Regions from separate parts of the Homo sapiens genome. Here regions 1, 3, 4, 5, 6 and 7 are each linked to region 2. The links are contacts of gene promoters, found by promoter capture Hi-C in human tissues and cell types (Jung and others, 2019). All regions are on one chromosome and are shown on one strand. Each heading gives the region's core, a stretch centred on a gene start or on the middle of the fragment in contact. The rest is flanking DNA. Distances are from core to core; before and after follow the strand shown. Region 1 overlaps NFIB (nuclear factor I B). Region 2 holds the start of MPDZ (multiple PDZ domain crumbs cell polarity complex component). Region 3 overlaps NFIB (nuclear factor I B). Region 4 overlaps NFIB (nuclear factor I B). Region 5 overlaps NFIB (nuclear factor I B). Region 6 overlaps TYRP1 (tyrosinase related protein 1). Region 7 overlaps LURAP1L-AS1 (LURAP1L antisense RNA 1).

Region 1 (3,514 bases), core at 1,004-3,503, 910 kb after region 2:
TGACACAAAATTATAGTTCTACATTATTTTATTTTCTCTCTATTAGATGTGTATTAAAATAAGACAACGAAAGAACATGGGAAAACTGAGTGTTTTCCTTGCCTCTCATAAGCATGTAAATGTTTGGGAAATGGTTTCTCTCTCTCTCTCCCTCCTTCATTCTTCGCTCCTGTGTGTGTGTGTGTGTGTGTATGTGTGTGTGTGTGTGTGTGTGTGTGTGTGTGTGTGTGTGTGTGTGCCTGTGTCTCCCTTTATCTCCTGTCTCTCTCTGCTTCTGTCTCTCTGTCTCTTTTCAATAGGGCATTAAATTATTTGGAGTCCACTTCACTGCAAAACTTAACTTAACAAGCTGTTCATGAAAAGTTTTAACTTTATCACTTTGTTAATGGAATCCCTGATCTTGTTTGTTGTTTGTTTGTTTGTTTTTTTAGTGAATCCGTACTCCTCCTAAACCCAGTTCTGAGCAATAAGAGAAATTAGACCTCTCTGAATATTTTGGCAGAACCAATATAATATTTGGGAGATGCAGTTTCCTGCATATTTTAAACTATTTACTATTTCAAGTATGAAGACCTATATCTTCAGATCCCTCTTTCTGTTGTTTAACATTGATTTTAAAATATACGTTTGATTTAGCAAAACGCATAGTTTAAAAAGATGTTGCTACACTTAAGATCTTCATGATAAAGTAATTTCATTAACCAAAGAAAACTACAGAACAAGAGAGTAGATATACGATATATCCTGTTTCATTCCTGAACATCCCAGTTGTTTTATCATTAAGCTTTCTTTTAAAGAGCCACTTTTTTGCTTAACAAGGAGATTAGGTACAAAGAGTCATATCCCAAGGATTAAAATAAGGATTTGTTAGCGCTCAAGACTGAAATTTGTCCACAGGGAATTAACTGAAAAAATAGGCCACTGAAATTTAAGGTGGAAAAAAAATCATATTATCAAAAATCATATATCAAAAAAAATCAAAGCAAATCATTCTACCACAGGGGACTACTAATGAATCCCCTGCAAATATGAAACCCTGCACAAAAAGTGTTAAACCTGCCAACATCTCTGACCAGAGGGCTGTGGTACTTCATTAAGTAGTACCAACCCACCCCCCACAACAATGGGAAGCTAGGATAATCATATCTGACCTTTCTGCCCTAACCTAAGATTAAGTTCAATGACTTCCTACTGATCTAGGGATTGAGTGAACCAAAGGTCATAATCAGGATCACCTACAGTTCTTGCTTTTGAAGGCTTTAACCTACAGAATGCAAAAACACCGTACTGGTCATTGTCAAGATTGCTGACTTTCTACAGTGTGTTTTCAATTAAGTAAATAAAATGTGGTAATTAAATCAAGATTGCATAATATGTTTTTGATTTGTAATCTTATTTAAATTAATTAACTGACTCAATCCTTGCTTAGTTTTTAAACTGGTCGAGTTAGGGAAAGAGTCCCTGGGAGCAAATCCAGTTTTCTATCTTTAAAAACAAGGCAAAGCAATCTGGCATACTTAAAAATATACATTAAATGCACCAGCATAATATAAATACAGAGGCAAGGGTGCTAATGTAGAGGAGGGAAGAGTTTTATGGCACGATTTTGACTAAAAGAAATAGCTCTCGCACTAGAGAGAAATAAACTAAAACATTATTTATTCAAAACATTTCTTTTCGAATTTTATGAAGATTGCATATTTGTTGGAAGCAAAACATTTCCAGCTGTATTTTAAGTTTCTGAAGAGGGTTGTAAGATTTATAATCTTTCATAAATGCTGCCCATATCTTATAATATTAGATGAACACGCCACTGCGTACTTTGAGGAACAATTTGCCAACGCAGTTTGCCACATGAAAATAATAAAGTCCTTTCCAAAACCCAGCCAGATCCAGTAGGAAAAGATGAGATGAATGTTCTTTCTTTTCCATCTGGGAGACATTTTGGATTTCAGCTATACTATGTAATATACATTTTTTCCCCTTGGAAACCAAGAAACCTGCATTTTACAACAAGGTATGTAGTGCAAAGAAAATGCTGGTGAAATAAGAATCTGAAAATGAAAACCAGAATGTCATCAGACTCAAGAACATAATCATGAAGGCAAATCGAAAAATCAATGCAGAATTTCAACATAAAACAAATGCAATGTTTATGATCCTATTAGTCTTAAATTTTTCTCTTAAAAGGAAAGCATAGAAAAATAAGTGCTGTTTTACCTCCAAAGTCCTGAACAGCATTTATGTTACTACCTAGCACCATGACTTACATATCTGGTTTATCCTGGAGTCTTCACGCATTATTCTAAATCCCACACATACAACACTCCTGTGTACACATGGCCCCTCTGTGCTATGTCACTTCATGTATTTTCCCAACACTTAATATATCTAGGTTAAAATCAGACATAAGACTTTCTAATATTTCATTGGCAATCTTTCTTCTCAGGGAGCAGGACATGTTCTCTCCAAACTGCCTGGAGAGTCAGGACTCTGGGCTCTATCCGGCAACTGCCAAGCACTAGCACGCTGACTCTAAGCAAACCATTTCACGCACGAATCAGTTTTCATCTTGCCCAGTGGCAACTAGTTAATGAAAGGTAAGAGTTTAGTCTTAGTTGTTTTCAAAGGAATTAGAAATACTAGGAAAAAAATAATTTCACACAACAGTGAAATATGCACAAGTATTTTTGTGGAAAAAGGCTATGAGATATATATATTTAATGTTCTTTAAGGTTTAATTAGTACTCCTCCTCCCCCTCCTAAAAAAAAAAAAATCCCCACCTACTTGGTTGCACTGCCCCTTGCAAACGCTGACAACACAGGTAATTGAAGGGCTGGGTTAGAGTGCAACTCTTCTGCTACATTTTAAAACCCATGGGGTCAAGAAACATGTTAGTCTTATTCACTGCCCTAGCATATTCCTGGCACATACTAGATGCTCAATCAGTATGTGTTGAATGACTAACCACTGTTTTACAGAGAACAAGATGATGACTGGTAGCAGTTAAAACAGTTCATCTTCCTTAAATTACAAACAAACTGCCAGTAATACCAATCATAACTTTCAGTTTTTGATTATTATCTACACATATTCTAATTTTTAAGTTTCTACAACCTCTCTACAAATACAAATGTAGTGATTGACTCAATGACCAAAAAGTCATATTCTTATTTTTTCATTGCTCATTTTTTCATAGGCATATGTTCCTAAAAAATTTTTTAAATTGGATACAGATTTCTCTATCATGTTAGCTAAAAAGATACTTTGCCAAATCATTAAAATGTTTATGTTTATATCCTTATGTGAGCTTAGAGAGAAGAAACTGGATGGGTTTTTTATATCTTATGTTACTTACATGTGATTAATAACCAGTCCTTGTTTTATTATTAAATTATGGCTCTTAAGTCTGTGATACTATATTCATATAAAAATAAATGTATACATTTAAACTCAAGATGCATAGCAATTAACTGGATAACAGAGTAAGATGATGCATAGCCTACTTTCTAC
Region 2 (3,507 bases), core at 502-3,001:
AGATAGTTCCAACATTACAAGATGTTCATTGTAATCACTCATACCCAAATTCAACATGTAAAACTCCCAAGCCCGAAACCATCACCTCCTCCTCGTTAGTTTTCAGATAAGGTGTTATTTATTCTATAAAGGGTAACCTAAACCAGGAATTTCTAGGGAAACACGAAGGGGATGTTTACATCAAACTGTCTACAAGGCAGGACGAGGCAGTCTGATCACTTATCAGATTCCTTCTCTATGACATCAAGGAACATGGAGAAGTTTTCCTTCTACGCTGGTGAAGTCATGGTCCTCTTATCTATCTGATGATACCTAGGAAACACTAGCCTCCAACCGCAGCCCCTACTGCAAAAAGGCAGTCAGTGCCCATTGCCGGGGTCTTCCCAAGCGGAGCACCTCAAAAGCCGCACCGCGCAGTAGAGGTCTCCAGGGGCCCCCACTCGCCCCCAGTGACTACGGAGCGGCCTCTACCTCCCGCCGGCGCCTGGCCACTTCTCCTCCCCCGCAGTCTCCGCTTGATTTCCATGTGACTGCAGGCAAGAATAGCCCAGCCTTTGTGCCTCTGCAAAGAACGCAAACAAAAATGTACACCATCACCACCCAACAAACGCGCAACTCCGCAAGACACAAAGCGTCTCCCAAACATCGCTTCCCTGGTAACATCCGGCATCCTGGGGCTGCCAAATCGCAGACAAAGACGCCCATCAGCGCGGGGGGTGAGGAGACTAAGGGAGAGACAAGACCAACGTGCTCCCACCAACGGGAGCGGCGGTTAAAAGGGCGCCGGTGCCAGGGGTGAGGGACGGGGCACCGGTACCAATTAGCGGCTCGCCTCGGGGTCCCCGCGGCTAAGGCGAGAACGCAGGACCAGGAGCATTGCTGCCCACTCTCTACCGCAACCCGCACATCCCGGGACCACGTAACGGCGGATGGGGCGTCCGGGAGCGGCCCCTGCAGGGGAGAGCAACAGGCTCCCGCGCCCTGGAGGCCTGGTCTGCGCTCCGGGCCCCCAGGCTAACACCCCACCCCCAGCCCCCCGACACCAAGACTGTGCCCCTCTGGGTCAAGGAAAAGGAAAAACTTTTAAACCTCTTAGTCAGCGAGAGCAAAAGAAAGGGGTGGCGGGGGTGCTGAAAGGTCTAGGATTATCCACCGCGGGGCTGGGGGGAGTGGAGACTTGCGAGTAGCAAAGGAAACTTCTAGACCCCATCCTTTTAAAAAAGCCACAGCAGCGGCTTCCGCGAAGCGCCGGGCCGCGCGGGGTGGGGCAAGCGCACCGCCCCACCGCCCCACGGCCCGCCGCCACCCCTACCCCCACCCCCACCCCCACCCCCATCCCCGCCCCCACCCCCACCCCCAAGCGCCGAGCCCAGGGCGCCCGCGCACCTTCCCCGCCGGCGCGCGCGCAGGGCGCGGGGGCGCGCCTCGGCCTCTGGGCCGGGGCTCAAGCGCCGCTTACCCGGCTCGCGGCGCCCGCCCAGGGCCGCGACGCGAGGGGGCGGAGGACTGGGGAGCAGGGGTCGCCGGGGCCTCTGGATGCCTCGCCTCGCCCACGCTCACTGTCTTCTCTTCTGAAGTAACGACCCGGCGAGGAGCTTCGGATCAAAACGCACAGACACTCACGCGTGACTGAGAAACTTAATCCCGCGGTGGCCCGACGCCAGCCTAGCGCTCCGCCGCGCCCCCTCCCCCAGCGCGCGCCGCACTTGCGCCGACCGGGGCTGCCGCGGAGGCGGTGGCGGGGCCCAGGCTGCTGGGGCTGCCGTGACGCCTGCGACCGGCGGGGCGGCGGGCGCGCCTTGGCCAATCAGGGGACGCGGCCGAGCAGGCCTGTGCGGGGTTTTAAACTCGCTCCTGGGCCGCTCGACCTGGGGTGTGGGTAGTGGACTTGTGAGGTGGTCAGATAAAATATAGGCTGCTCTGTTAAATGGGAATTTCAAATAAAAAAAAAAAGGAATAATTTTAGTACAAGTATATCCCATGCAATATTTGGGACGTACTTATGCTAAAAAGTTCTTCGTTGTTTATCGGAAATTCAAATTTAATGGCAGTCTTGTATTTTTATCTGCCGATTTTGTCAACCTGCGGAAACTGATAGCCTGTTTCTAGCTCCTCAGATTTTCCTTATGTGCACTGCCCTGTGGATGCTTTCTGCATGGGTAGCTTACTGAATGGCATAGGATGCTTATGAGAAGCGCTTTAATCAGAAGGGTGGGGGCAGTCCTCTCACTTTCTAAGTAACTTTTCGCACATCAGGGTGCATTCTTAGTCTGATGATCCAATTAAAAAGCAAAAACAGTAAACATGGAAAAGTTATTAGAGTTGCATGGCCCCAGGAAGAACAGATATTCATTTCTATTTTGTGCCACTTAAGATTTTCTTTCTGTTATCCTCAATTTGGAAGTCCCACGAATTTTTTTCTGCATAAGAAACTCTTTTTCAAAATATCCCTCTGATATTAGATTATAGGACCAAAGGATACTCAGAAGTCCAATTTAGAACATTTAAAAGAATTTCTTTTAATATTCTGAATAAAAATACTTTTTTCTCATATTCCTTGGACTTTCAAACACATTCACAGCTGTTGACCTCTCTCTTCCTAGAGTCCTCCCCACCCCACCCCTCTTGTAATTCCATGCAATCACACTCTTGGTTTTGCTTCTTCCGCTTAGTCAAGGGCGGATGTATGGGCTCTGAAGCTTGTACAATTGGGAGCTCTGCTTTAACCAAAAAAAAAAAAAAAATCTTTCTTTAGAAAAATTCAAAAAATAAATGCCCATGTAAACACATTGCTAGGGTTGCTCCCAGGCAAGAGAAGGACCCGGAACGTTAAGCTACATCAATTTCCAGGTAGATCTGCCCCTGTCCCCAGGCCACTCTTCAGTCTTCTTTGCCTCCTCTCCCCCAATCTTTAGATGCTGGAATTCCTTAAAAATCAGTTACGGGCCCTCTTTTCCTTTTAACTCTTACCTCTAAATACATTTTCACTTCTAGCTTATGATCTCGTACCTACAGAATCTTACATTTATACCTTCAGATTTATCCATATATTCAAGTGTTTATTTGGCTTCCCTGTTTGCTTGTCTCAAACCTAGATTGCAAAAAAAAATGCAGCCGTGATACTTCTGCTCAAGCCTGGTCATCTTGTTCAGTGTCCCAGTGAATGGAACTGCCATAGATGCTACATGATTCCCACAAACTACGATAAACCCATTGTGATGCATTCTTATGGTACCCTATGCTTTTGCTTCATAATATTTTTCCTACTTTGTAAATATGCATTTGATTTTGTAATTATGCAATGTCTCTTCCCTCTTCAACCATAAACTCCATGAGAACAGGGGCTAAGTCACCATTTTATCCTCAGAGCCTAGTAAAAACTTCACACTTGGTTGGCACTCATATGAAATAGGATGAATATACGACTGCAAGAATGAATAATTTCTCCATATAACTTTTGTGTTCTTGTCATAGAGTCACCTCAAGGCATCCCATTTGGAAAGGATT
Region 3 (3,609 bases), core at 427-2,926, 830 kb after region 2:
TACTTTCCCTTTTAGACTATCGAGCTTCTGCACACACTAAGTAATAGTGATTCAGGAGTTTTAGAAAGATAGTTTTTGCTCATTTTTCTATCGATCTATGAGGCTCTAAAAATACTAGCTAAAATTTCCAAACCACGTGTTTTAGTTATTTGCATATTTCAGGATTTCAAGTAAAAGTGATTTTATGATTTAAAGAACTGAAAAAAATTCCCTGCATATACATAGATAGATCAACAGATTGATAGACATGTAGATTCTGCTCAGGATATATGTCATAAAGAAGTCATAAATCAGTAAATAAATTAGAAAGAAAAATAAATATTCTTTTTTTTTTTTTGAGACAGTCTCACTTCATCACCCAGGCTGGAATGTAGTGGCACCATCTCAGTTCACTGCAACCTTCACCTCCCAAGTTCAAGCAATTCTCCTGCCTCAGCTTCCCAAGTAGCTGGGATTACAGGAGTGTGCCACCATGCCTAGTTAATTTTTGTTAGTAGAGATGGGGTTTTGCCATGTTGGCCAGGCTGGTCTCGAACTCCTGACCTTGAGTGATCCGCCCACCTCAGCCTCCTAAAGTGCTGGGATTACAGGTGTGAGCCACGGGTGCCTGGTCATAAATACTCTTAAAATGGACCAAAATACTCACATGAAGGAAAAAAAAGTACACTTTGCTTTGTTTTAAATCAGATGACATACTTTCAATATTTCAAAGAAGTAAATGTGTTCAGTCTAGCGGGAAGCAATATGGCAAGATTTCTTAAAAGTTCTCAAAATGGGTCGTCTAATCAAATTTAGTGTGATGGGGCAAATTGTCTTCTGTTTTTTTTTTACAGTTTTTTTTACTGTAAAAGTTTTAAAAGTACAATGAAAACAATCAAAAAACAGTTCAAGAAACTTGGCTTTGTATAACAAGAATGTTAATGATTTATCACTTACTGATTCTACTCTAGTCAATGAAAATGGAAGGGTTTTGTTTAATTTTTATTTGTTTGTTTTTTGAGACAGGCTTTCCCTCTGTGGCCCATGCTGGAGTTCACTGGTACGATCATGGTTCACTGCAGCCTCAACCTCCAGAAATCAAGTGATCCTCCCACCTCACTCTCCTGAGTAGCTGGAATTACAGGTTCGTGCCACCATGCCTGGCTAATTAAAAAAAAAAAAAAATTGTAGCGATAAGATCTTGCTATGTTGCCCAGGCTGGTGAAAATGCTAGTTTTGAATCAAACATTTGGAAGAGGGGAGATGTATATTTAGGCATAGTACATATTAATTATGTTAATTATTAACTTCAGATTAGTATCTATGGGGCTCTCAGCTTAGGTTGGAGAAGTTTTCAGAAAAATAATATGCTTTCACAAAGCCAGGGGAATCTAAATACCACTCACTGATTGCTTATTGTCCCACAGACAACTGTAGGACCACATCTCCTCAGAAGGATGTGTTGTAAATGAGTTAGTTTTTTTGTTGTTAATGTTGCTAATATTTTGTCTGTTTGTTTGTTTTACGACCCCCAAAAATGTCAAATGGGCTATCTTTGACCATATGCTGCACACATAAAAATGAACGTATTTTTGGACTTTTCTTTTCTAAAAGTAGTCCCAAAGTGGATAAACCTGACTACAGCTATTCATTATCATCTATTTAAGATATATGCAATAGAAATATTTTCTCCCAAACAGAAAAATATGCTTAAGTACATTCAAAATAAACAACAAATATATTTAGCAATAATTTAATGCCAAATAAATTGGCAATATATTAATTAGCATTGAATTTCCTTTTAGTTACTAAAAATGTAAAATATAAGAAACTAATTTATCTGTTTAGATTGTGCACTACCATTACAACATTTCTTGAACTTTCTGAGGAGACACGCTATAACTTAAGCCAGGTTACTTGAGCAAGAGCCTCTCTCTTCATGTTGGTTTTTTTCAATTAATAAACCTTCTTGGTCATAAAGCATCTTGGAACTAACAAAACTCCCTGATAAAGTGAAATTTTAAAGTGATGGTATGGGTGGGGGATGCAATTAAATCATTAAAATAGAAATCACTTATTCACCAAAGATTTCCATGATAGTAATTCCTAAGAAAATCAATTTCTAATCTTATTTGACCAAGATATTCCTGACCAAGCAAATTGTGAACAGACTCTATATATTAAAAGGTTAATACTACATGTATTTAAGCTTCTTTTGGGGTCATGTTACATATTCTTGCCTTTAGCATAATTCAGTTTTCCTAATAAAAAATAATTTTACATTAGGCTTTAAATAAGTTTAACATAATAGGTGATAATCTTTTTTGAGTTTGGGGTGGTGATTCCTTAGTTTCTGTCCTGTGACAGAATCAGTGTTAGGTAATTCAGCTGTAAATTCTCTTTTTTTATTTTAAAACTTTAATTTTAAGTGGCACATAAATACATGCCTTTCATTTATATAGAATTTTTCTAAGTTCAAAGCTTTAAGAATGCTGTAAGAATTTTTCCAAGTATTTTTTATTAAGAAATAGGAAATTGCTTTTTTCTCCCAATAGTAATCAAATTTAAAATACCAAGTGCCACTCAGTTTAGAAATTCAGTCTGTTAGAATTGTCTGTTTTCATGTGGAGGTGGGGAACAATTCTTATTTTTGTAACAATATAGACTCTCAAAAAGAACTGATCATATGCATATCCTTACAAAAATGCACACTCATATAAATCATTTTAATCCTTTAATTTATATGCACATACCAATATGAAATTCTATTGTCTAGAAAATGCCCAGAATTTCAAAACCAAATAAAAGGTGAACTAAGAAAGTAAGATTATCTTCCAAAAAAGCTATCAGTAAAGGGGGAAGGTTGGAACAGTTTAAACAAATAAGAAAGATGTGAAGGTGAAGTTTTCACTGCATATGTTCTTAGGGTGGAGTTCTGTGGTCTCTGGAAAGAGAACCTTGTTCCTGGCCCAGTTCAAATCAGATTGCTTCAAAGAAAAAAAGAAAAAGGATAGGGGCCATCTGGTTCCTCTCAAATGGCTACATAAAGGGGAAACACCTAAGATTTGGATCATTATCCTTTCCTAAACTACACTCAAATAATCATGTAAGTAGCAGATAGCCATAAAGAATTAATATTGCTTGTGACTTCAGACTAATAGTTTGTTTATTCAAATGGGGGTCCTCCTTTGTTATTAACAGGGTCTTTTGTTAAATACACAGCAATTAGCTTTGGGAACAAAAGAAAGAAGGTAAGCAAAATGTTCTATTTTGCTAGACTCAGCAAACAGGCTGAGGTACTAACAGTTCCTACGATGACAACAAATCTCAACTGAACCAATAAACCATTAAACTGTGAACAGAACAATCAACACAGGCAAATTTACCTTCTCACTTTTTTTTCTTTTTACGTTTACAATGGCCCTCAGGAGAACATCTTGAAAGGTATGTTTTATGTTTTCTTGTGTTTCTTCATTTCTCCAGACCCTCAATGAAACAGATTTTTAAGGGGTGAAGGCTCTTTTTGCGGTGGAAAACAGATGCTTAAAAGGATTAACACTCCAATATTCATACTTTGGATTAGGAGAATTTTATTTTATTGCTAATATTAATTACCTACATGGAGCAAAT
Region 4 (3,615 bases), core at 1,008-3,507, 930 kb after region 2:
ATTGCTTTACAAATTGTTTTTGGCACTTCACTTACGAAGAAAATACGCTAAAATGTAAGTATACATACACACATGTGCACACTCACACAAACACACACCCACACCCCTCCATTAATCCCTAACCAAATATAAATAGCATCGTTAGTCAATTACTTCTGATGGTTAAAACCACAAATTGGTTACAATGATCTGTCACTTTATATGGCCAAATAATAAAACTTCAAGCAGAAGAGATGATTACTATAAGTACAATAGAAAACATCATTCACTGTTTTAATTTGTTTTGAATTTTTACTGGAAAAAAACAGAAAGAAAATTTTTAACTTTCAAATGTAAACATTCATCACTGAGTCCTAAAAAAACTTCCCATTTCAAATTTCATTTGTGTCAGTGCTAATATGTATCAAAATAGCCGCATCTCTTGTACACTGTGGATTTTCTGGGAAGTTACTCACCTTTGATTATAGGAAAGTAAAGGAAAGTCTAATTAATAGGTTGAAACCGTACTGAATTTCTGCTTCTCTGTATACATGATCATTTTTGTCTCTGTTTGGACTGAAAGCCAGATACTCAACAATCATTCCCTAAAAATTTAAAGTATTAATTACATACATGTATTTGTACAATGTTAAGTATCACTGCAACCTGGAAAAACTTGCGGTAAAATTAAAATTTTTCATTTCAAAACAACAGTGCTCTTAGCTTAATCCTCTACAATATTGTATTCAAAAATAGTTTTTCTGTGTGATTAACAGTAATATTACCTGGGCTATTTTTAAAATCTGGAATTAGAATTCAATTTTAAAAACTGCACTCAAAAAACATCCTGGATTCAGATATGAATGGACCTGGGAAGTTTCTTAAAAGAAATACATTTTATCCTAGATCGATAGTAAGAAACAGCAAGGAAATGCACAGAAACAGGATATAGGGAATACATAAATTGGGTCTACACTGGTTAAGAAACAAAGTTAAAAAAATAATTCTACTCACTTTAAAATGACACTGTGCTGAAAAATAATGAGAATAGATAAAAGCTTTGACCACTCCCATTGTCTACCTTAAAAAAATACTAGTATAGTTACTCAAGGCACGGAACTGGACAAACTGCAATTTGAATCCAGAAGACAGAATCCAGAGCCAGGGACAAAACAAGTCAAAGGAGTTGGTGACCAGGGCAATGGCCAGAAGTTTACCCGTTTATATCAGATTCTGTGCCATCCACCCTGCGGGGCCGTCTGAGCTGTGCTTCCCCAGCTGGTGGGCCCCTCCACGTCAGCCCTCTCGTAGACTCCAAAAGGAAATCAGAGTTGAACAGTATAGCATATTGTTATTAAAAGTGATTTGAGTTGTGACATGAATATTGTACTTTCAATAAAGGAGGTATACACTTTAGAAAGCTCTTCAGCCTCTAGAAAGAATAGACATTTAAAAGATTAAAGCGTTTAAAGAATGATCTCTCCACTGACCAGAATACCCACATCAAAATAATGTACCACTGGGTTTTATTGGTAGCTGCAATTTAGCCCATATGAAATGGAATATGGCCTTAGTGTTAATGCAAATACGTTGCCATTTATCATAAAATAAGTGTCATCTCTAAAGGTAACTGGACTTTCCTTAAAAATGAACCATTCTAACATGAAAGAGGCATAAATTAATAAATCCCTGAGAAAGCCTAGCCTACGGCTGTAAGGAACATCTAACTGCTTAACTGGGCAACCAAAAGACTCATACAAATAATTAGAATACTTATTTCCAATTGATGAAAGCAAAACTACTCCAATTCACATTAAGGTTGATGAGTCACATAAACCACTCACTGACTTAATTTTACTTAGAAATTGCTCATGCACTTTTGTTGCTTTCCTGGAAGGTTATACAAATGATTATATACTCATTTAATTATTAAACTGAATGATCTCCTTAAGGGCAACATTAAACATACTAAAGTACAGTACACCATGTCACAATGTGCTTAAGTATCCCTACTAAAAATAAAAATTAAAACAAGGTTAGAAAACAACTAACAACTAGGTTAAATTCAATCCAAAATATAGATTTGGGAATTTCTAATAAAATTGTCCATATTGTTTGAATGGGTTCACCACTGAGTAATAGTGTGAATAATTTAGGTAATCATCTCAAAAGGTTATAATTCCTCTGGGAAAAAAAAAAAACATGTTTAAAACTCTACACTTACAATATTTCACATAATATAATTAATAAATGTTTGCTAGATGATTGGATTTAAGTTATATGATAAAAAAATACTGCTCACACTTATAATGCTTTAAATGCTTTACAACTTACAAAACACTTTCACATAAGCCACCTTACGCTAACAACTGTGTTAGGTAGATATTACTATCCCCATTTCATAGATAAGGAAATTGAGGCTCACAGAGATTAAATGTTTTACCCAAGGTCATAGCCCTAGTAAATTCACTGCTTAGAGAATAATTAGCTTAAGTTAAGATAACAGCTACTTCCTGCTTCCCCATTCCAGTCTCAGAGACACACAAACACAATATGCATCACATATAAAATGTGATAAAATCAAAAATTATACATCAATCATGTTTATGCACTACATTATTTGCCTATTTCCATTCGTATTTTTGTAAGCGCTGTTTCTGAAAGGTAATATAGCATATAATTACACCTTTCTTTTTAAAATGCTATGATAATCTTCTCACTGCCTGGGAAGTTTCCATGGCAGAAAGACTGGGCACAGTCAGGTAACTGGTATTTCTTGATTACCATCCACCAGTAGGTTGATCTTTGGAAAGTTACTTATCTTTGGAAAGTTACCTATCCACCAGCAGGTTGATCTTTGGAAAGTTAACGCGGGCCCCCAGGTTCCTTGTTAGTCACATAAGGGATCTGTAATAAACACTTCCTAAGTCAGGTCCACCATCCATTCTCCACAGCAGTGGTTCTTAAGCTTTAACATGCACAAGAATCACCCAGAGAGCTTGTCCTAACAGAGTTTCTGGCCCATCCTCAGAGATCTGATTTAATAGGTCCAGATAGGGCCCATGAATCTGCATTTCCCAGAAGCTCACAGGTCAGACCAGTGCTGCTGGTCGTGGGACCAAACTTTGGGAACCACTGCTACACAGTAACATGGGAAACCGAAATACTTCAGAAAATGAAAGTCTGATGTAGCTTCTCTCCAGAAGCCTTCAGTGGTTTCCCCATAGCCCTTAGCATAAAGTCCAAAGTGCTAAATGAATAACAGTATGTGGACACCCAGGTCTCCACCCAGATGCATTGCTCAGGATCTCTTTCTGGGCCTTTCCTGATACCCCAAGCTGCTGGGCTGAGTTTTATGTCCCTCATCTGTGCTCTTAGGAAAATGTGTTCCCTGTGTCCTAAAACTGTAAGGAACTGTTATCACATGCTTCCTTGCCTCTGTTCTCAACATTCCAGAAGTGGTTTGTAAACATACCCCCAACTCCCACTGCTCCAAATTTAAGGGGGGAAGAGTCCCCTCATTTCACCTCACATCATTTTACTTAAGAATCGATGCCACCTTCGGGCTATGCATCAGGTCTCGTTTCCAATATTTCTAGCAGAGCCCTCCTCAACCCTTCTTTATTACTCCCCACT
Region 5 (3,190 bases), core at 249-2,748, 810 kb after region 2:
ATCCAACATCCCCTATGTGGACATTTCAACAAATATTTTTGCCAAATATGAGACAGGCTCACTCTCCACTGTGGATCTGGAACTTTCAAGAAAAACTATCACCAAGCCAAGTCTGCCTTTTTAAGCCAAGTCTGCCTCCAGGAGAATTTGTTGTGTTTGCTTGTTCTTACTATTGTGTTGTTATGAAAACCAGTAATGAGTTCAGCTTGCAACCCAGGTGGGAAGTTAGAGAGGGGAACCTGTGTAAGTTGAAGTTTGTCACAGTAGGCAGAACAGTCGCTTTGCAGCCCAGGCCCATCTCAGGGTGCACTGCTTCACAGCTACACTGCAAAGTGTTAAAAATCCTCCCACCCACCCCAGAATATATATATATGTATATTAAAAAAAATCCCCTGTCCATCTCTCAGTACACAAAAGGACCTCATCACACTGCAAAAATAGCAGTACCCACTTTGGTCAATTAAAACAAACAAACAAACAAAAAAGCATACATTATTTTTTTTTTAAATCTGTGTACTTACCTATAATAACCAATACAGCTAAAAGCACTACCTACATAGGCAAAACTTGGTATTGCATAATTCGTATAAATTTGAAACCCCTCCCCCCCAAATATTAATTGGAAGATGAAAAACATGAAAGGTTAATAGAAAAAAACACCAAAATACTGAAAATATTGCTGGTCGATTACAATTTTTAAGCGGCAACTATACACAGCCATGATATGCTTTATAAATGTGAGATAAAGGTATAACTGTCTAAAAAATCCATGATGTCACACATTTTTCTTCGTCTGGAGTACAAAATATTTTGTCATAAAAATGGTAAAGATTTAAAATGATAATAAATGCAGCAAAACAAGTGTAGTGATGTCACTTTGTTGTATTTTTTTGTTTTTTTTTTTTTGTTTTTTGTTTTTTAGATTTCAAGGCAAGGCACGTAATGTGGACATTATATCTTCGTGCAAATTAGGATTACTGGAAAGAGTATTTTTAATTAAAATTTTAAGAGACATAGAGGCAAAATGTGTCTGCCCATGCACACTATGGATCTGTCAATACAAGAAATTTGTTGAACAAGGCTAATGTCTGAAAGCACCATGCAAGTTTTCAGCACCCTGATTACATTTGTTTTCTCAAGAGTGCGTTTTTATATCCTACACCCTGGCGTTCCCAGTTTGTAAACTGTAAGCTTTACCCTTGTGACATGGATTTGCCTGCCTCTTTGTCTCTATAATGCAGATTTTATAGAACCTTTTGTACACCCTATGGGTTCTTGATGCAACCAGTAATTTTAAATAAATAAATTCTACCTCCAAGGAGGCTGCAGCTAAACCAACATAAGTGCTGTGTTTTCATTAATTTTATTTTTCTCAAGCACATGATTTGTCTTGATTTAATGCCTTTTTAATGCCCTCAAAAACTGAGGGGAAAATAAATTCGTTCAAAATTATTTTAAATTCTTTTTAATCCCCTCAATTTAGAGTCCAAGGGCTGAAGGACTTATAATCATGATTCCCCTTTAGATATAAATTTATAAATTGCACTTGCCTCTGTTAAGTGTTTCTTTTGTGGGGAAAATATTATATTAATTTTTACTGTTGCATGCAGAGAGAACACTTCACCTACATAGAGGCATTTCTTCCATAGAGCCTTTGTGTTCAAACTGTTTTTTTCCTTTTTTCTTTTTTTCCTTTTTTTTTCATTTTTTCTTTTTTTAAGATTTCAAACTGGGTTACACACTGGAAAAGGCTGGGTTAAGGGCCGAAATTTAATAAATCTGTACTGATAACTAAAGGCTACAGAGATTTCATATATTTTTTTTAACTTTTAGAAATCAGAGTGCTTATAAAATGGCTGGCTCATGGCTCTGTCACCCAGCACCTCTGACGCCGCCTCCTAGCCTTCGTTGGTGAGATAACCAGGAATAGTGATTCCATGCGTAAACAACAAGAATACTAAACCAATAAAACTAGCTTATCATGCAAATATTAAGGCATCTAGAAAGTCAGTTAAAATATATTGTCATAGAGACAGAACATCTATTTCCCAGCGGACTTCATGTAACAAAGGCTACGTTGCAGGGGCTGCGATCTACCATCAGTGAAATATCATCGACCCTTTTTATGTCATTACAGTTTCAACCTTAAGGGAATTAGTGATTGTAAGTGCTGCAATTGCTGGTCTATTATCTTCTTTCTTCAGTTTCTTTCCTTTCTGCCTTTGTGTTGTTTTGTCCAGTCTTCCTCTTTTCCTTTTTTTTTATTTAAAAAAAAAATTTCTTAAACTATTGTTGTGTTTCTTTTTCCCTCAGTTGCTTGTTTCTGCTTGAAGGAAAGGTTCTCCAATTATGTTCAAACCGTAATTTTGGACATTGGCCGGTAAGATGGGTGTCCTATTTGACACTTGGAAAGGAACCAAGCTAGCCCAGGTACCAGGACTGTTGAGAGGAGAGAGGCAGCAGGGAGGGAAGAAAAAAGAAAAAAATACAATGTTAAAATCTACAACAATATGAGAAATATAAATTCCAGATGCATCAAATTATTGCTATCCCTATTTTCAAAATTACAGTCTAATATGAGATAAATGTGCCAAATTATACATGTTACACCTATCTAAACTCTATAGTCTATTTTTTAAATGAAAATTAAGACTAAAGTGAGGCAGAAAAATCCAGAGTAAGATATATAAACAATTATTGAATTCTAACCGATTGAGGATATTCTAAAATATTTTACATTAATCAATATAAATGCAATATCATTCTTTTTTGTACAGGAAAAAAAAGAAAAAGAAAAGCAGCAATCTGTTGGTACCAATATACTTTGCCAGTTACATTCTAATCTTATTTTACCTTTAATTCACAAGCAATTCAGTGGTCAGATGGGTTTCAATTTCTTACCTGCCTATTGGGTTGAATACAATTGAAAAGTACGGTGAAAGATATTTCTTTTCTCCTTACAACAGGAAAAAAAACTACATGTTTAAGGTAGGCCCATGCATAACATACAATTTGAAATGCCCAATTATCAAACATACCTTAATCAGAGTTTTTTAGTAAAGACCGAACAAATAAGAATCATAGAACCAAAATGGAACACAGCTTTTTTTGTTCTCTACAGAATACCCATCGTGAGGAAAAACATTTACAGGAGGCCACAAAGGTCTCTGCTTGCACTGATTAGTTCTAT
Region 6 (3,500 bases), core at 577-3,076, 580 kb before region 2:
GTATAAACTAATCCTCTTAGTTTTCTTAGCACTACTTAGAAGTCATGTGTCTTGTGTTGGAATTTCACAGAAAATGTTTCCTAAGAAAATGTGAAAAATAGGCAAAAAGTTGGAAATGCCCTGGGAAGAAAAAAAAGAAAAGAAGCAAACCAAATGTATGCTTGCAGTTATAAAGTTAGAAAACAAAAGCTGATATGGGGGATAGTTTTCAGAAAAGGAGTATATTGTACTGATGTCTGCCCCCTAGCTGCTTTCCAGCTCTTCCAAAGTGAACACAGTAAGAGTACGCCTAATCAGTTGTCCCAGCATCCTTTCTCCAGTGATCTGAATGCCACCACTGTCACAGGTCAAGTTTCTGCCACATGTAGATCTCTTCCTGAGCTTTCTGTTCTCCTCCTTGGATCATATTATTATTTGTGCCTGTGGTAGTAACACAAGGTTTAATTATTAGACACCCCCTACCTCATCTTATTTTTCTTCTTCAGGCATGTATGGCTCTTTTGATTGTTCTTCCATATAAAAATAAGAGTTATGTGAATTTGTTTTCTTATTATAATCACCACATACTTATTCTACATGTATTATTTTATGCATCAAGTATTATTTTATGAACTTAAATAAGAAATACTCTAAATAAATCAGCAGGAATTAGATACATATTTTCACCATTAGATTATTTAGCAATGTATAGGAATAAGAGAAGTGATAATATATGAAAATTTCCTCTGTAGAAGTTTAAAACTTAGAATAAATTTGTATTTGTTTGGTATGCTGAATGCATGATCCCACCTTGTGGCAGAGAACTGAAATTGAGGATCAGGATGTCTGCAGATGCCAAAATGTTTATACTCTTTGTGACCAGGCCATTGTATTTTGGCCTGAGAGTTTTCTAGACATTTCCCAATCACCCTGATGATTGGATACCAAAATAAAACACAGTTTAAATGAGTGAATGCAATCATAGCACAGGAGGGGGAAGAAAGAGGAAGAGATTTTCTTTTCATCATAATTTTTCTTGTCAATTAATATAACAAGTCTCCTAACTCAGACACATAGTCTCATGACAAATTGAAGAATATTTATTTTAGGTTAAAATATTTTTAAGATTATCCCTTGTCTCACTGCAAGAGATAAATGGCAGACATTTTATTTATAAGGCAAAGGAAAGGGAAAAACTATCATTTTATTGAACATATATTATGTATCTGATATAGTATGAAATGCATTGATATAGTATCCTATTTAGTCTTCATAACAATTCTCTCTTCTATTACTGTTCTTCTTTAATGATCTTGTCCATTTCTGTAGTTCCATTCGTCATCTTTTACTGGAGACCCACACGTTTCCACCTTTAGATAAAACCTTCTTTCTTTAAATATTCCATACCCATGTCTTCACATGCTTGTTGCATAGTATTTCTCCAATATTCAAAATTAATGCGCCAAACTTGGTGGATTGAAAATAGTTAATATTTTATTGCAGCTAACGTTCTTCCAGCCACCAAAATACCATCTTTGAATCAACATAGAAAAACACTGTTCTTTATTCACAGTACTTCTCAAATATATTTTCTTCTTCAGACATGGGCAACTTTCCATTTATTTTTATGTGGAAATTCCACAGGACTTTGGTCCATAGGATGTTAGGTGCAATGGCAGAGTTTGTCCATATGCAAACAAATTTAAGAATCACTGGAATAAAAAACAAACTGGTTTATTTTTTATATAAACTAGTTTCTTTACTGTCAGCATTTTCTACAATGGAACTCTGTGAGGGCAAATTAGAATGTAATGTTTTGAAACTCAAGTAATTAATATTTGTTTCTTGGGATTTATTGATAGCTTCCTGAGCAGTAATCCCCAAAACATCAGCTTGAATTGATAGTCTAGCTAGTGATGGTGAAAGTTTTGGGTGATAATGTACACTCAATAAATAGTTTCCAATCCCACCTGAGGCATATGTTTTAGTTACATATTATTTAAATTTCATTATGCTAACTTAACAGGTTCTGATTATTACGTTAATTATAAAGCATAGAACATGGGAGGCTTTCTGAATGAAGGAAAAGGAATATGAGTTGAAGTTGTAAAATTATCTCTCACCAGCTTAGTGGATTGTTTTGCTTGTCCCTTTACGGTACATATATTCCTTTCTGGAGACCACTGGGACAGAATGATGCAAAATTTTCCTAACCAATCACCTCTCCTCCCACCCATCTAAGGTTTTGACTTCTCTCCACTTCCTAATAAATCACACATAACTTTCTTATCTTGATACTTGATTTTTTTTTCACAATATAGCTCTGGTCTAGCTTCTTTTCTTTCCTACAGTCCACTACTATCCTGGCACATACTCCAGGCAAACTATTTCCCAAACAGGCCCTCCCCCTTTTTTTGTTTATTTTACAGCTAACATGATCTTTTCCATATAATGACAGGCACCAAACAACTCTTCAGCACCTATTCAATGCCAGGTACTGTGCCAAGTCTGTGGGATACAAAGTTTTTTTTTGTTACAGATAGGGGGTGTTATAGACAGAAGAAAGTGTATCATCTCTTGCCATTTCCTCTGCCTAAAATGTTTGTCTTGTAAAATTTATTTCACCTAAGAAAATTTTTCTTAATCCTATGGGGCTTTGTGTAAATCTCTCTTCTTTATAAAGCCTTTCTGGAGATCTGACTGGGCAGGATCTCTCTCTCTCTTTCCCTGCTCCCTCCCACCATCTCTCTTCTTTAAGGCTCCTATCATATTATCTATCCCTAGTATCACAGTTCTTTGTTTGTTACTGCCCTTCACAAAGTTTCATTATTTCTCACATTAATTGCTGAAAAAGTTGAAAAATGTGTGTTGGTTGACATATGTATCACTTTCCAAAGAAATGTAAGGGTTTTTTTTTCCTTATTTCTCTGAAGGTTTAAATAGACAGCATTTGCATACAAAATATCACATATATGTGACATAAAGATTTTAGTGTAGAACTAGATTTATGAGATTATTTTGGCAAAATTCAATTTTCCATGGAATTTTCATTTTAATACATTCTTGTGGAAGAAGCATATATTGATTTAACAAATATCAACACCTGTATCTGTTAGTGTGATTCTTTTTTTTCCTTCAGATACTTTTATGTATCTCATATCTACTTGATTCAAAGAAATGGGACATGGTAACTTAGATTTTCTCATTTTAATGCTACCAAGTATGCATTTTTAAATTTTCTTTTCTACCAAGGAAAACCTATATTTCATATTCATGCTATGTATAAAGTTTTAAAGAGCGACAATAAGAACTCCAAACATTGTGTAAATGTTTCCACATCCCATTTTTTTCTGCAGGCACCGAGGATGGGCCAATTAGGAGAAATCCAGCTGGAAATGTGGCCAGACCAATGGTGCAACGTCTTCCTGAACCACAGGATGTCGCTCAGTGCTTGGAAGTTGGTTTATTTGACACGCCTCCTTTTTATTCCAACTCTACAAACAGTTTCCGAAACACAGTGG
Region 7 (3,590 bases), core at 137-2,636, 560 kb before region 2:
CTGAGTGACTGTGATGTTTCAATTTAAACTCTAAAAGAACATGTATTTGAGGCAAAATCAGACTATGCATATCTAGTTCTGATTCCCCAAATTAGACTTAAAATATATAAATAAATTCTTACAGCATGTGTAGACATAGAACAAGTCCCAAACTGTTAGGCATATATGTATAATACCATAATTTTGTTCCAATACAAACTTCATTCTTTCAAATAAACTGCATAATATATACTTGTAAAAAAATCTGCCTTCAATTTATTTTAAAAAATTATCTTCAAACTACTGACTTCAGAAAGTAGCTGTGGCCATTCAGAACAGGGCATTACTGAGTGACAAGGATACTGTTTAATCTTGGTATGAATTCTTATTTCATTAAAGGATGAGGTTTCTTAATTTTTCCTTCTCTTTCCTCCATATTACTCTATACCTTTTACTATGAGATACTCCTATAGAAACTAAATTTAAAGTCTACCTAGAAAAGAAAAAAAAAAAAAAAAGCATTGTAAATAAGCCCCAGCCATGAGAGTTTTATCTATCTACAAGCGGCTGTAAGAACCACTGGAAATAAATGATACCTAAAGCTGTTTTCCTCTAGGTGTCAGTATACTCCCAGAACTTTTAAAGCTTAGATTTAATGAAAAAAGTAGGAGCACAGTAAAATAAATGTTTACTGCTAGTCCATACTATTTATACATTTGAAAGATTTTTTTTGAAAACTGAACTAAATTTGCCACTATGAATGTTCATCTGCAGATGACAGAATAGATTTTGTACTAGAAAGAACAAGATATGGCTATGATATATTTCTACAAACACACATTGTTTTTTCCATCTTTTTTTGGCATTGGAAAGCCCTATCATTCATTATTGGCTATCATAAGTTACCTTGTCCTGTGGACAGACATTAACATTCTAAAATTTCAATAAACTTTGTAGATAATTATTGATACCCATTACAATAATTGGGCTCAATTTAAAATGCTCATTGGCAGGAAGTCTTGCATTATACCTTTATCACCAATGGCGTAGATTTGTTTAATTAGACTAACACAGAATTTTTAAAATAACACAAGATACAAATATGTTAATGAGTGTGTGACTGACATTTATCATAACATGTATTCTATTAAAACACTGTCATCCACATTCCTCCAGTCATAGAGAATCCTTCTCTATTTTCTCTCCAAATTAAGTTTCCTGAGGAGGCTGTGTATCAACTGGATGACTCCCAGTGATCAAACCAGGAAAGTAATAGTGACACGCCTGCACCGATAGTTTCAGTGTATTTAAGAAATTCATTACGCCCTATTTTGTAATTTTTCTCCAAGCTTTATTTTGAAAACTGTCAAAGCCCCAGAAATCTGAAAAAGCAAAGCAAAACAATGAAGACTTGTATAGACTATTTATTTCAACAGTTGTGAATATTTTGTGACATCATATTTCTCTAAATAAATACCTTGACATGTAATTTAAGCAAAACATGTTTCTGAGGAGATCATATAAATTATTGTTAATCAAAATCTCAGGTAATGTAAATAGCTCTGTCAGTTTTCCATGAAGCCCTCAATCCAATTCTTATATGACACACAAGGAATGTATGGATAGATGTATGTGTCTAAATTCCTGCTGGTATGATTGTAGTCCTCAAAAAACGCTGGAGATCTGGATCAGGTAGATAATCACATACAGAGCAATCAGGAAGCAAAGCCAAGTTGATAGGATCTTTGAGATCCTTTTCAGAGCTCCTACTTCAAAGCCAGCACAATCCCTACCCTCCGAAGAGCCAATCAGTGCACTTTACGTCTCATATCTCTACCATTACTCTGTTACCTGAGCAAAGTCTGAAAACCACCACTGGAAAATTCAGAAATATAATTCTAATGACCTCACAGATAAACCTCTCCAATTATGGCAAAATCAGGTACCTCTCTGATCACAGACAGGAACTTAGAAATAACTAAAAACTAAAAAAAAAAAAAAAAAAAAAAATTACCATGATGGAAGTGACTCTGCCAACTATAATGGATGAATATTTATTCATTTCTTAGTTTGGATGGGTGACAAATTATTAGCCTTTCTTAGGCACCAACTCTTAGTCTACTCAAGTTTCTTCCATAACCTTATGACTAACCTAACTGATCATGTCACTCTCATAGTTCAAGATTAAATTTCATCTATCAGTGTTCTCCAGAGAATAAGGTTGGGACAGTGTCAACTTTTTTTGAGACTTTATTTTGTACTTTGTCAAAACATTAAATAATTTTAATTCTGCTTAAGTAAATTTTTTTTAAGAATATCTTTGAAGATCTCTAGTGAAATTATTTTATAAGTTCAAAGTACTGTTTTAGTTTTATATTTGCTACTGTAACAAATTACAACAAACCTAGTGGCCTAAAACAAGACAAATTTATTTTTTTCACTTCTGAAAGCTGTTTTTACAAAGTCACCGGGCTGACACCCATGCATGGTCAGGCCTGTACTGTCTCGGGAGGTCTTTTTCTTTGCCTTTTCTAGCTTCTACAGAAAGTGTCATACCTTGCATTCCTTGGTTCATGGCCCTTTCTCTATCTCCAAAGCCAGTAGGATCATATCTTCTCTGACTCTGCTTACATGTCCTTATGTCACATGGCCTTCTTTGCCTCTGTCAAATCTCCCTCCATCTTTACTTTATGCGAAAATTTGTGATTGCATTTAGGACCCACCCACCAAATAATCCAGGATAATCTCTTCCTTTGAAAGTCCCTAATTTAATCACATCTTCGAGGTCCACTTTATCACATAAGGTAACATTCACAGGTTCCAGGTATTAGGACCTGAACATCTTCGGGGGTCATTTTTGAGCTTACCATAAATACTCTCTTTGTGTGCCCATTTTGAGAAATTGGCTCAGTTATTACCAATAGATAAAAATGAGGCCAGTTCCAAATTCTTCATTTTTCTTCATTAAACTGCTGTGAAAAGTTTATTCTTAGACAGTTTTCTGGCAATGATAGAAGACACTGAATCAAGACTGTAAAACTGACTGAAGAATTCTGCTTTTACCTCATAAATCTTCCCCCAAATTTCCTGCTCTCCAATTATTTTTCCTCCTCTTTACATGGAATCTTTTTATGCTATATTTCTACTTAGAATACTTCTATGATAGACATTTTGGTTTCACCAATTAGCAGAGAATTTCAAATTCCTCCTCTAAACCTAGTTTGTTTATTGGTTTGCTTTCCTTTTCTTTACATGTTCATGTAATTAAGATGGCTTTAGTAGTCACAGCTTGCACAAGAAAGGTTGACTCACCTGCCCGTGTGAAAACATCTTTCAGATTTAAGAAGAGTCCCAAGGGAGCATCCCGAGTTTATTGCTCTTTGCAGGCTATAAGCTCTCCTTAAGTGATCTCAACCATTTTCATACTTTTAATTACCTTCCCTAGGCTAATAATTCCTGAATCTCTATATTTAGCCTTAGACACTGCCATGAGCTTCAATTTCACATATTTAATTGCTGGCTAGAGAAATCCATTTGACTAGCTCTCGAGACTTTCAAATTCCAAATACCCAAAATGAAACTATTTCTTTTCCCTATAAAACATGCCTCAT

The links. The method cuts DNA at HindIII sites, captures the fragments that hold promoters and counts their contacts. A contact is called where the count stands out against the background at its distance.
Region 1: a contact is called between a fragment that was not itself captured here and the fragment with the promoter of MPDZ in region 2, in 4 of the 25 tissues and cell types used here (IMR-90 fibroblasts, dorsolateral prefrontal cortex, mesenchymal stem cells and 1 more).
Region 3: a contact is called between a fragment that was not itself captured here and the fragment with the promoter of MPDZ in region 2, in 1 of the 25 tissues and cell types used here (dorsolateral prefrontal cortex).
Region 4: a fragment that was not itself captured here is called in contact with the fragment with the promoter of MPDZ in region 2 in 2 of the 25 tissues and cell types used here (dorsolateral prefrontal cortex and lymphoblastoid cells).
Region 5: a fragment that was not itself captured here is called in contact with the fragment with the promoter of MPDZ in region 2 in 2 of the 25 tissues and cell types used here (dorsolateral prefrontal cortex and mesendoderm cells).
Region 6: a contact is called between a fragment that was not itself captured here and the fragment with the promoter of MPDZ in region 2, in 1 of the 25 tissues and cell types used here (mesenchymal stem cells).
Region 7: a fragment that was not itself captured here is called in contact with the fragment with the promoter of MPDZ in region 2 in 1 of the 25 tissues and cell types used here (heart right ventricle).

Annotation. Positions count from the first base shown.
Region 1 is chr9:14,186,836-14,190,349 of GRCh38, forward strand. All of the region lies in intron 2 of NFIB (nuclear factor I B), which reads right to left. Among named protein-coding and RNA genes, the nearest start is that of NFIB, 130 kb to the right of the region's middle. The HindIII fragment of the contact is 4,047 bases long and covers 231-3,514 here.
Region 2 is chr9:13,277,941-13,281,447 of GRCh38, forward strand. It overlaps MPDZ (multiple PDZ domain crumbs cell polarity complex component), which reads right to left and starts at 1,752. Exons shown (of 47, transcript NM_001378778.1): 1 at 1,460-1,752. RefSeq lists enhancers at 1-659, 660-1,375. The HindIII fragment of the contact is 5,465 bases long and covers 1-3,336 here.
Region 3 is chr9:14,103,601-14,107,209 of GRCh38, forward strand. The region is part of intron 10 of NFIB (nuclear factor I B); the gene reads right to left. Among named protein-coding and RNA genes, the nearest start is that of LINC00583, 180 kb to the left of the region's middle. The HindIII fragment of the contact is 3,850 bases long and covers 1-3,601 here.
Region 4 is chr9:14,210,470-14,214,084 of GRCh38, forward strand. All of the region lies in intron 2 of NFIB (nuclear factor I B), which reads right to left. Among named protein-coding and RNA genes, the nearest start is that of NFIB, 100 kb to the right of the region's middle. The HindIII fragment of the contact is 3,827 bases long and covers 345-3,615 here.
Region 5 is chr9:14,085,888-14,089,077 of GRCh38, forward strand. It overlaps NFIB (nuclear factor I B), which reads right to left. Exons shown (of 11, transcript NM_001190737.2): 11 at 1-2,439. The coding sequence ends at 2,422. Among named protein-coding and RNA genes, the nearest start is that of LINC00583, 160 kb to the left of the region's middle. The HindIII fragment of the contact is 5,711 bases long and covers 1-3,190 here.
Region 6 is chr9:12,698,936-12,702,435 of GRCh38, forward strand. TYRP1 (tyrosinase related protein 1) reads left to right here. Exons shown (of 8, transcript NM_000550.3): 5 at 3,336-3,500. LURAP1L-AS1 (LURAP1L antisense RNA 1) reads right to left here. Exons shown (of 4, transcript NR_125775.1): 4 at 1,064-1,691. Among named protein-coding and RNA genes, the nearest start is that of TYRP1, 7.3 kb to the left of the region's middle. The HindIII fragment of the contact is 8,728 bases long and covers 1-3,500 here.
Region 7 is chr9:12,719,044-12,722,633 of GRCh38, forward strand. All of the region lies in intron 3 of LURAP1L-AS1 (LURAP1L antisense RNA 1), which reads right to left. Among named protein-coding and RNA genes, the nearest start is that of TYRP1, 27 kb to the left of the region's middle. The HindIII fragment of the contact is 5,784 bases long and covers 1-3,590 here.